2 separate regions of the Homo sapiens genome follow, and region 2 is linked to region 1. The links are contacts of gene promoters, found by promoter capture Hi-C in blood cells and fetal thymus (Javierre and others, 2016). All regions are on one chromosome and are shown on one strand. The core of a region is centred on a gene start or on the middle of the fragment in contact, and the rest is flanking DNA. Distances in the headings are between cores, read along the strand shown.

The links. The method cuts DNA at HindIII sites, captures the fragments that hold promoters and counts their contacts. A CHiCAGO score of 5 or more calls a contact.
Region 2: a contact is called between a fragment that was not itself captured here and the fragment with the promoter of C1orf141 in region 1, in 1 of 17 cell types (naive CD4 T cells). The highest score is 5.6, in naive CD4 T cells.

Annotation. Positions count from the first base shown.
Region 1 is chr1:67,132,293-67,137,247 of GRCh38, forward strand. C1orf141 (chromosome 1 open reading frame 141) reads right to left here and starts at 2,678. Exons shown (of 8, transcript NM_001276351.2): 1 at 2,638-2,678. RefSeq lists an enhancer at 4,911-4,955. The HindIII fragment of the contact is 7,094 bases long and covers 1-3,002 here.
Region 2 is chr1:66,950,387-66,955,548 of GRCh38, forward strand. The region is part of intron 4 of MIER1 (MIER1 transcriptional regulator); the gene reads left to right. Among named protein-coding and RNA genes, the nearest start is that of MIER1, 28 kb to the left of the region's middle. The HindIII fragment of the contact is 2,127 bases long and covers 2,690-4,816 here.

The DNA of each region.
Region 1 (4,955 bases), core at 1,428-3,927:
GTGGATCACTTCAAGTCAGGAGTCGAGACCTGCCTGGCCAACATGGTGAAACCCTGTGTCTACTAAAAATACAAAAAAAAATTAGCTGGTCATGGTGGCGCACGCCTGTAATCCCAGCTACTTTGGAGGTTGAGGCAGGAGAATAACCTGAACCCAGGTGGCGGAGGTTGCAGTGAGGTGTGATCGTGCCACTGCACTCCAGCCTGGGTGACGAGCGAGTCTCCATTTCAAAAAAAAAAAAGAGGTTTACTCTTTGACAGATCTCTTCCTTACTGGGTTGAAAGCTCATTTGAAGCAAGAATTGACTTATCCACCTCCGACTCTCAGCCTCAGGCAAAGCGTTTTACATCTAACGGGGATTTGAAAATTACAATTTAATTTGGAGATGTCTCTGAATATAAATTTTTAGGAAGAGTAATCCTAGTTTATCTGTAATAAATGATGTTACTTCATAATGATTTACTGGAAGATGAAATAAAAAGTTGAGTGTATTATTATAAAATGGGGTTATTGCCAATCTAAACTTGGTAAAATTGTTTTGAAAGGAAACTTGGATTTATGTTCTTAATTTCTAGCACAGTAGTGACAGTTTTTTGTTGTTGTTTGTTCGTTTGTTTTTAAAGAACACAATGAAATAGAGGCCATGCCAATTGGGGCAGAATGAATTCCCAATTACTCTCACAGTGAATCATCTACAGGCCTCACTGCAAAAACTTGCTCTCAACAAAAATTGTAGGTCAATATTATTAGCATATCAGAGACTAAGTCATATCTAAAATAAAAATGTCTTAAATATTTTAAGAGAACAATTTTATTTTAACAGCACCTTTGGGACTAAAAACAAACAAACAAAAAATAACAAAACCCAGTGTCGTCAATATAATAGGCTCAGCTGAGAAGAGTTCTTCAGCAAGTTCTAAACAACTCAGGAAAACTAAGAATCTCTAAAGTTACAAACTAAAGGCCTGAGAAATTATCTAGAAAATGCAGGCTTAAATTAAAATTCACTTCCATTATGTGGCTTTATCAGTTCAAATGCTTACTCCTTGAGGACGAGGCCACTTCTTACACTCTTATCTGACACAGTCCACTACTGAGACCACAGTAGGGACTCACTTCATCTGTTAAATGATTAATGTTTACTCAATAATTAGATAACTGGCTGAGTTATCTCCATCTCACATTCCAAGGATAGACTTAGGGGAATCTTTTTTCTTTAAATCTAAAATGTTGATAAATGGCCCATATTATAGGCTGAATTATGTTGCCCCTAAATTCGTATGTTGAAGTCCTAGGCCCCAGGATCTCAGACTGTGATTGTATTTGGACATACAGCATTTAAAGAGTAAAGTTAAAATGGGGTTGTTAGGGTAGGCCTCTGGCCAGTATGACTGGTGTCATATAAGAAGAGGAGATTGGGACACCGAGGATACACAGAGGAAAGTCGTTGTGAAGATTCAGTGAGAAGGCAGCCACCACCCCAAGCCAAGGAGCGAGGCCTCTGAAGAAAACAACCCTGCCCACCTCTCCATTTCCAACTTTTAGTGTCTAGAACTGTAAGAAAACAAATTTCTGTTGTTTAGCCACTCTGTCTATGATGTTTTGTCATGACAGTCCCAGCAAGCTAGTACAGCCCAGGCACTGAGAACTAATTTAAAAACCCGACCTATGTGCTTAGTTCCGCATTATGCATTTTCTTGTCCCTTATTTATTTATTTTTATTTTTGAGACGGTCTCACTGATTCTGTCACCCAGGCTGGAGTGCAGTGGCTGCGATCTCAGCTCACTACAACCTCCGCCTCCCAGGTTCAAGCGATTCTCCTGCCTCAGCCTCCCCAGTAGGTGGGACTACAGGCGCCCACCACCATGCCCGGCTAATTTTTGTATTTTTAGTAGAGACGGGGTTTCGCCACTGTGGCCAGGCTGGTCTCTAACTCCTGACCTCAAGTGATCCGCCCGCCTTGGCCTCCCAAAGTGCTGGGATTACAGGCGTAAGCCAACGCGCCGGCCTGGAAGGGAAGTTTCTAAGAAAAACTACTAAGGAATTTTAAAACTATGATGTACGTGGATTGTGGAGTATTATTGTGGGCGACTAATCAGATAATGATTGCAAGAATTGATTAGCCAGCTCGAAATCGCAGCACAATTACCGCAGGGGCGATCAGCTTCCACCATCCATTCCAGGATGTTGGGAGTCGTCAATTTGGAAATGTATCAATTAAGCGGCCCCCAGAGCCTCTCGCATCTCTTGCCCGGCCCCGAGTCACCTTCCCCCAGGTGCCTCCATCTCGCTGGAAACATAGGAAGCCCGACTCAAACGCTCTATGCCTATGGTCGTTTCATGGGAAAGCAAAATTAAGGGCAACATTGAGGAAGCTCATTAATATTTAGTTTAGAAGATGCAAAGGGTTCTTCCGCGAACCTGGAAGAGCCCCCCGGGCTCGCCTCTCGCCGCGGTCCCACACTTGCCTGACCTCAACCACACTCTCCCGGTCCAGGCCCCGCTGGAGAACGTCCCACCGACTCCGGGGACAGAAAGGCCGTTTATGTAAAACGACGTTTTTCCTATTTCGCCTCCCACCCTCATGCAAATTTTGATTTTCAACTCTTCCAACCCTTCCGCACCCTGAAACAAACCTCATCTCCTTTCCTCCCTCTTCTGGCTCCGCGGGTTACTCGCCCCGCCCCCACCCTTCAGTCCCTTAGCAACGCGTCCTCGGTCCGTAGAAACCGGTTGCCGAGCTCTGCCTACCTCTGAAAGGCCTAGAGAGCAGAGTTCTCTTCTCAGAGGGGCTTCGCCCACAGACTTTTGTCACTAAAAGCCCAGGTGACTCCCCAGATGCTTACGGATATTAAAACCGATTATGCTGAAGGAGTGGAAGGAGAGTCAAGTAAAAGAAGAAGATCAAGTAAAAAGAACTGGGGAACAGTGACTTTGTTTCCCCTTATTGTACCTCCTTTCTCCTTTTGTGCTTTCCTGGAAACATCGAATTTCAAAAAGAAGCTTACAAAGTCCACCATACAGCTTGCAGGTCTGAATGGAAGTCAACAGTTTATATTTGAATATTTGATGGAAGATTGCTTTCATGGCTTATGATATTAAAAACAGCAACAACAAAAAACCATTCTTATTTCCAAGGCCAAGAAACCTCCCGTGTGGTTAGTAAAATCACCACTGTATTACGCAAGTTGTGTAGCAGACTTGGCTGCACACACACATACCACTTAGCATTTTTATGAGACATAATGGAGATACACTGACATACATTCTGCTGTATTTACTGTATCCTAAGGAACCATTTGTCCTTATTGCTCACTTGTGTGAGCAGAAAATGCACTAAGGCCATGGGAATCATTTATTTTTAGAGCCATAATCTAAAAATGACTGACTTGAAAACAGCTTGTATTTAATTTAAAATGATGGGGAATTTCACAATATTGGTTACATTTTAAGTCAGGGGTTGTTCATCATTCCAAGAATGTACCTTATCTGATGCATCAAAATAGGGGGAAAAGCTTTAAAAAACAGCACTTCAACATCTGTGAGAAGAAAAGGAAAAAAAGCACCAGAATTAATCATCACAAGTCTGTGCTAGTGGCAATGGCAAAACTGCAAAAAAAAAAAAAAAAAAAAAGTATAGTTATGTAGCAATCCAAATTTGGCTAGAAATTGATATTAATAGTCAATGCATGAAAACACTGGAATCAATTTATTTCAAATATTTAAAAAACAAAAATACAATCATTAAAAGTAGAAGGTAGTTTGATTCTTTTCTGTTGCCCAGACTGGAGCACAGTGGTGTGATCATAGCCCACTGCAGCCTCAATCGCCTGTGCTCAAGTGGTTCTCCCACCTCAGCCTCCCTAGTAGCTAGGACTACAGGTGCATGCCACTATGCCAGGCTAATTTTTTTATTTTTATTTTTTTGTAAGGACAGGGGTCTCACTATGTTGCCCAGGCTAGTCTTGAACTTCTGGTCTCAAGTGATCCTCTTGCCTTGTTCTCCCAAAGTGCTGGGATTACAGATGTGAGTAGCCACTGCGACTGGCCAAGGTAGCTTGATTCTATTATATTTTTTAAGCCATATACATTCAGGAACAATGGTTTGTATGGAATTGATAACTGGAATCTAGTTGATAGTGGTGATTTGTCTAAGATTGTTGTAATACCTTCAGCTCAAAAATTTGTACAGAGGTGAAAATTAGCTTCTTAAGAATTCAGTTCAGAAACGTTAGCTACTCATTAATCTTCAGTCAATAAAATTTGTAAAGCATGAATCTTATGAAATTCTTAGAATATTATCATTATCTCAGTTAATATTTATGGAACACGTTCTGCATGTCAGGTACTAGGCTACAACTTTAAAATAGTTCTAATTTCATCCTTTACTTTTCATTCTTAAACCTTAATTCGTATCTATGGAAAGGGTATTATCTTTGATTTTAGAAAAGACCTGACTGAAATTCAAAGAAACTATGTGATTTGCCCAGCATCTTATAATTAGTAATACAATTATTAATATAACACAAAGTACAAAGTATTTTCTCTTTAATAACAAATGTTTGGTAAATGTACACAAAAAAGAATTCAAGTGGATTTTTTCCTAACTACTTTAATTGCTCTCAGTTAAATTCAGTATTTACTGAATGAGTTCATGAACCTATTATAGATAAATACTGGGTAAAGGAGCCTAATGAATGTTTTATTTTAAAAGTATACAGATTTCTTAAAATATAAACTGTATACTATAAGAAAACAAAGAAAATAAAATCTGCAGACTTTTTCCTGCTTCCTTTGAAGTAGGCCAACTACAAAGTTAGAAAGCACATTCCCCAAAACTGCCCTTACTTCTGACACCAAGTTCAGGGGGCCGTCAAAACCCTGAATAGAACCCTCAGGTTCGATAATTTGCTAGAAAGACTCACAGACCTTACTGAAAGCTATTGTATTTAGG
Region 2 (5,162 bases), core at 2,503-5,002, 180 kb before region 1:
GCGTGAGCTATTGCACCTGGCCATAGATACATTTTTGTTTGCTACAAATAGAAACACTCTAGTTTAACTCTGTTTTCCAAATGAACTCTTTAAACTCAGAGACTCTAAATGGGCACAATTGTGGCAGTCCATTTGGGAAAAGAAAGATCAAGATTGCAATATATTTATGTATTTAGATATATTTTATAAAAATCACACTATAACAGTATCAGTATTTAATACATACTTTTAAAGTGCTAGATGTGTTCCATCCAGAGCTAGAGAATAATTAAAATGTGTGATTAAAATGTGAGAGATTGCAGTATTTTGACGTATACACACAAATTAATTATATAGATAGAAAAGAAATCTCAGTGTGAGGATTATAAAGAAGAGTTCAGTGCCTTCATTCCTATATAGTTTTATCTTCTAGTCAAGCCCCAGCCCCAAGAGATTGGTTACCTTAGGAACCATCTCTCTAGTTCAGTCTGGATGTGGTCCCTTAGGCCTTTTTGGCTGGAAATCTGCCTCTTTCCTTCTTCCTATCTTCATTAGCATTTTATTGGTAAGTCAGTTTTGGTACAACAGGTGTAAGAGTACTATCTACATCCACCAAATGGCCTTGACTTGAAAGTCAGCATCTGCCATTTCTTAATGACTAACCTCCTGATGTGAGGGAGAAGGAGCTAGGAACTAGCACCTCTTCTGCAGCTAGGAGTTGGATGCCACTCCAACCTATAATATGTTAGTGTTTGATAACTTTACCCTATTGTCTTGAAATTAGGGCAGACTTAACTTGAGATATAGTATATAGTGTTTATCCTTTTTGATACAGGGTCTTACTCTGTCACCTTCCCAGGCTCATGTGATCCACCTGCCTCACCTCCCACGTAGCTGGGACTGTAGGCGTGCACCACTATGCCCGGCTAATTTTTTATTTTTTTGTAGAGATGGGGTCTTGCTCTGTTGCCCAGGCTGGTCTTGAACTCCTGTGTGCAAGCAGTCCTCCCACTTCGGCCTCCCAAAGTGCTGGGATGATAGGCGTGAGCCACTGAGTCTGGTCGGTTTATGTTTTTAAAAAGTCCATTTCTCCCACCTTCAGCCAGCCTTCCTTTAGCTTATGCAGACATGATTGCCCTTCCTTTTGTTACAGTGTAAGACAACTCATTTCTTAAAATACAGTCTGCAAATATAGTGTGTATTCCTGTTTTTTTTTTTTAAGTTAATTTTTTAGAGACAGGGTCTCGTTCTGTCGCTCTGGCTGGAGTGCAGTGGTGCAGTCATAGCTCAAGCATCCTTAACTTCCTGCGTTCATGCCTTTCTCTCGCCTCAGCCTCTTGAGTAGCTAGGACTGCAAGTGCATGCCACCGTGCCTGGCTACATTCCTGTATTTTTATTCATCATGTACTATGCCCACTTTCCTTATTTCTCACAGTTTATCAGCCCTCTTATTTCACATTGTAACAGGATGCTGTATACTTAACCTGACGTTAGATTTTGAAGAAGGCAGTATATATGCATATGTACAGAAGGGCAGTGTAAAGCAGTGAGTTAGACTGCCTGGGTTCGTAATCCAGTTCTACTACTTATTTCAGTGTGGGACTTAGGATAGGTTACTTAACATTGTTAAACTTCAGATGTTATTACAAGAATAATATATCTAAAGCGCTTAACATAATATTTGGCACATAATAAACACAAAATAAATCTTAGTTAATGTCATTCATAAGATTCTCAAAAAAGTCTCTGACCTATAACTGAAAATGTACAACTTGCCACATAATTTTTTCTTTCACTCTGTTCTCGCCTTTTTATACTCTTTTAACACTTACGTGAATGGGAATAAAACACTGTGCCACTTTATTGTGATGTTTCAATTTAAGTTGAAGTAAGCCCTTGAGTAACTGGTAGAATGCAGACTTTGGTAATATAAACTAATTAGAAATTCTCTGGAACAGGTGACTGACAGGCCCTGGTACAATAGTATACTACTTTTGGCCAAGTTTTATTCATCCTTAAATCTTTTTTCAGAGGGAAATAACGGAATATTTGCGTTACACGATATCATTACTGTTTATAGCATCAGAATTTGGGGGTGCAGAGACAGAAATCTGTCTGTAACTAGATTACAGACAGTCTAACCTCAAACTAGGTTAGACAAAATGAAGAATTTCATGTAAGTCTCATGGAATTTCATTAAAGGAGGGATATATCTGCTCCCAGGGACTCAAGTGCCACCAGAATTTATTTTCTCTATTTCTGCTTTTCTACATGGTTTACCTCTTTTTGTTTTTGAGACAGGGTCTCACTTTGTCACTCAGGCTGGAGTGCAGCAGTGCGATCTTGGCTCACTGCAGCCTCAGCCTCCCTGGATGAAGCCATCCTCCTGCCTCAGCCCCCCTAGTAGCTGGGACTACGGGCATGCGCTGCCACACCCAGCTAATTCTTTTTGTATTTTTTACATGGACGGTGTTTCGCCATGTTGCCCAGGCTGGTCTCGAACTCCTGAGCTCAAGTGATCTGCCTACCTTGGCCTCCCAAAGTGCTAAGATTACAGGCGTGAGCCGTGTCCCACCTGACTTGTCTTTTCAGACCAACTTTCTTCATATTATGCTGTCAGTTTGTAGGTCTCCCACATTTACTACTTGAGATAGTCTATGCTTCTTTCTTAAGTTGCTGTTGATAAAACTCCAGAAACAAAGTATGGACAAGCTTGGGTCATGTGTCCACTCCAAATCTACGGCCAGGGAATACAGTTATTCCAATTATGTCAGCTACTATGGTCAAGGAGGTGAACTTTCAAGAAAAATAAGTGCTTGGAATGGAAGAAAGAACATTTCATGTGAGAAGACAAGTACAGAAGTAGAGAGTAGGAGAGGCTTGGAGGGGAAATAATAAATAATCCTTACATGATGCTTGTTTATGCTTGCTAAATCTTTACTTCAGTTAGCACAAAGCAGGAACACAAATACATGCTATTGCAATTTGAAACAGGATTCCTCAGCAAAATTGATTCTGATTTTTATTATAGTTGTAGCCCGGAGTTTGCTGCAAGATTTTCACTTTTACCTTAGATTAAATAAGAGACTTTTTATACTGTCGTGCTTCAACTTGTATTTTTGGTGGTGATGATTTTTTCTTTGTTGCTTACTAAGCTGATATTACTCACTTGATATTGGGTGACAGCTTGAGTTACAAGTTTAATACTAGTAAGTAAGCATTTTCTTTTCCTTTTTTTTTTTTTTTTAATATTCTTGAGACAGGGTCTCACTCTGTTGCCCAGGCTGGAGTGCAGTGACACAATCTCAGCTCACTGCAGCCCCTGCCTCCTGGGTTCAAGCAGTTCTCCTGCCTCAGCCTCCTGAGTAGCTGGGATTACATGCCCACACCACCATGCCTGGCTAACTTTTGTATTTTTAGTAGAGTTGGGGTTCCACCATGTTGGCCAGGCCGGTCTTGAACTCCTGATCTCAAGTGATCTGTCCCCCTCAGTCTCCCAAAGTACTGGGATTACAGGTGTGAGCCACTGCACCCAGCATAAGTAAGCATTTTCTTGATTGAATAAGTAAGGGTATTTTTTTTCCATGTGATAAAGCCCATCTAAAAATAACGTTGTGTAAAAATAAACTATTAGAAGGTATATGAAAGTGTAGTTGGGTACAAGGAATATATGGAACCAGGGATTCAGCATCACCAGGACCTCCATCTCTCCTAATCCCTGGTTGAATCCTGTTGCATCTCTTCAATTTTTTCTTTTCCACAACCACTAATTTAATTTAGGTTCTGATCATAATACAGGTGAATGTGTAGTGAATGATAGCAGTGGATTCCCACATGGCAAGCAAACTAAATCTTCCCCTGCCTAAGTTCACGTTGAGTGTTTTGTTGTGTGTGTAATTTCCCCTAAATACTTCCAGAGTGTCAGTAACTATTCAGTACGCTCAAATTGAGTCAGGAGTATAACAGAAGCCTTTAAAAATTACGTAAAACTAGAGAAAGTAGGTAAAAATAGTAATCCTGACTTTCATTAATCTATAACTGATCTTTCAGTAATGTATGGCCTTCTGAAATGATACTTTGTTTTTAGTTACTGTAAATGGTATGTCTGCTCTAATCAGGGTGACTGGCTTATTCATTTTTGTTTCTGTACCATACATTTGTCATTTGCTCTGACTTGAATGACTTTTCTCCATCTGTGCCAGTTCTATTACGATTGTAATTCAAGCATTTCCCCTCTAAATGCACTGTGATCAGGCTACTTTTGACTCTCTCTGTTCTCTGCTTAGTCAATATTGGAGGTGTTGGAGAATTTTTCTTTGAGAAATGAATTTTTTTCTTTTTCCTTTTTTTTTTTTCTTGAGACAGAGTCTCAACTCTGTCACCCAGGCTGGAGTGCAGTGGCATGATCTCAGCTCACTGCAACCTCTGCTTCCTGCGTTCAAGCAATTCTCCTGCCTCAGCCTCCTCAGTAGCTGGGACTACAGGTGTGCACCACCATGCCTGGCTAATTGTTTTGTAATTTTAGTGGAGATGGGGTTTTGCCTTGTTGGCCAGGCTGGTCTCGAACTCCTGACCTCAAGTGTTCTGCCAGCCTCAGCCTCCCAAAGTGCTGGGATTACAGGCGTGAGCCACTGCGCTTGGCCTGAGAAATGAATTTTTACAAAGTGAGTCACACTTCTTATCTGTATATCCAGGAGGGAAAAACCTTAATCTATGATTGTCAGACATTCTACATTCTTGATAATGGTTAAAAAAGAAAAATTCTTTTTCCATGTAGTTAGTATGTCACCTATCCTTTTGACAAATATTTGAGCTGGATATCATATGTCATACGATAAGCTTTATTAAAGTTAATGTTCAAGCTTTATTACCTCCCATTGGAAAGGGTGATTTGCAGGTATCTTATCCCAGACCTGTGAGATCAGTGGTTTTCAAGGTAGTCTCATACCAGCAGCATTAGCATCACCTGAGTTTTTTTTTTTTTTTTTTTTTTTTTTTTAATTGCAGGTACTCGGGCCTCACTGGAGACTTACTAGGTCAGAAAGTTGGGTGAGGCTCAGCAGCCCATTTTAGTAAGCCCTCAAGGTAATTCTGATACCCTTAATAAGACAGACCAATCGTAGAGAGCCTGAGGGCATTTGTTTGGTTGCTAATACACCTTTTTTTGGAGTGAACGAAGTACC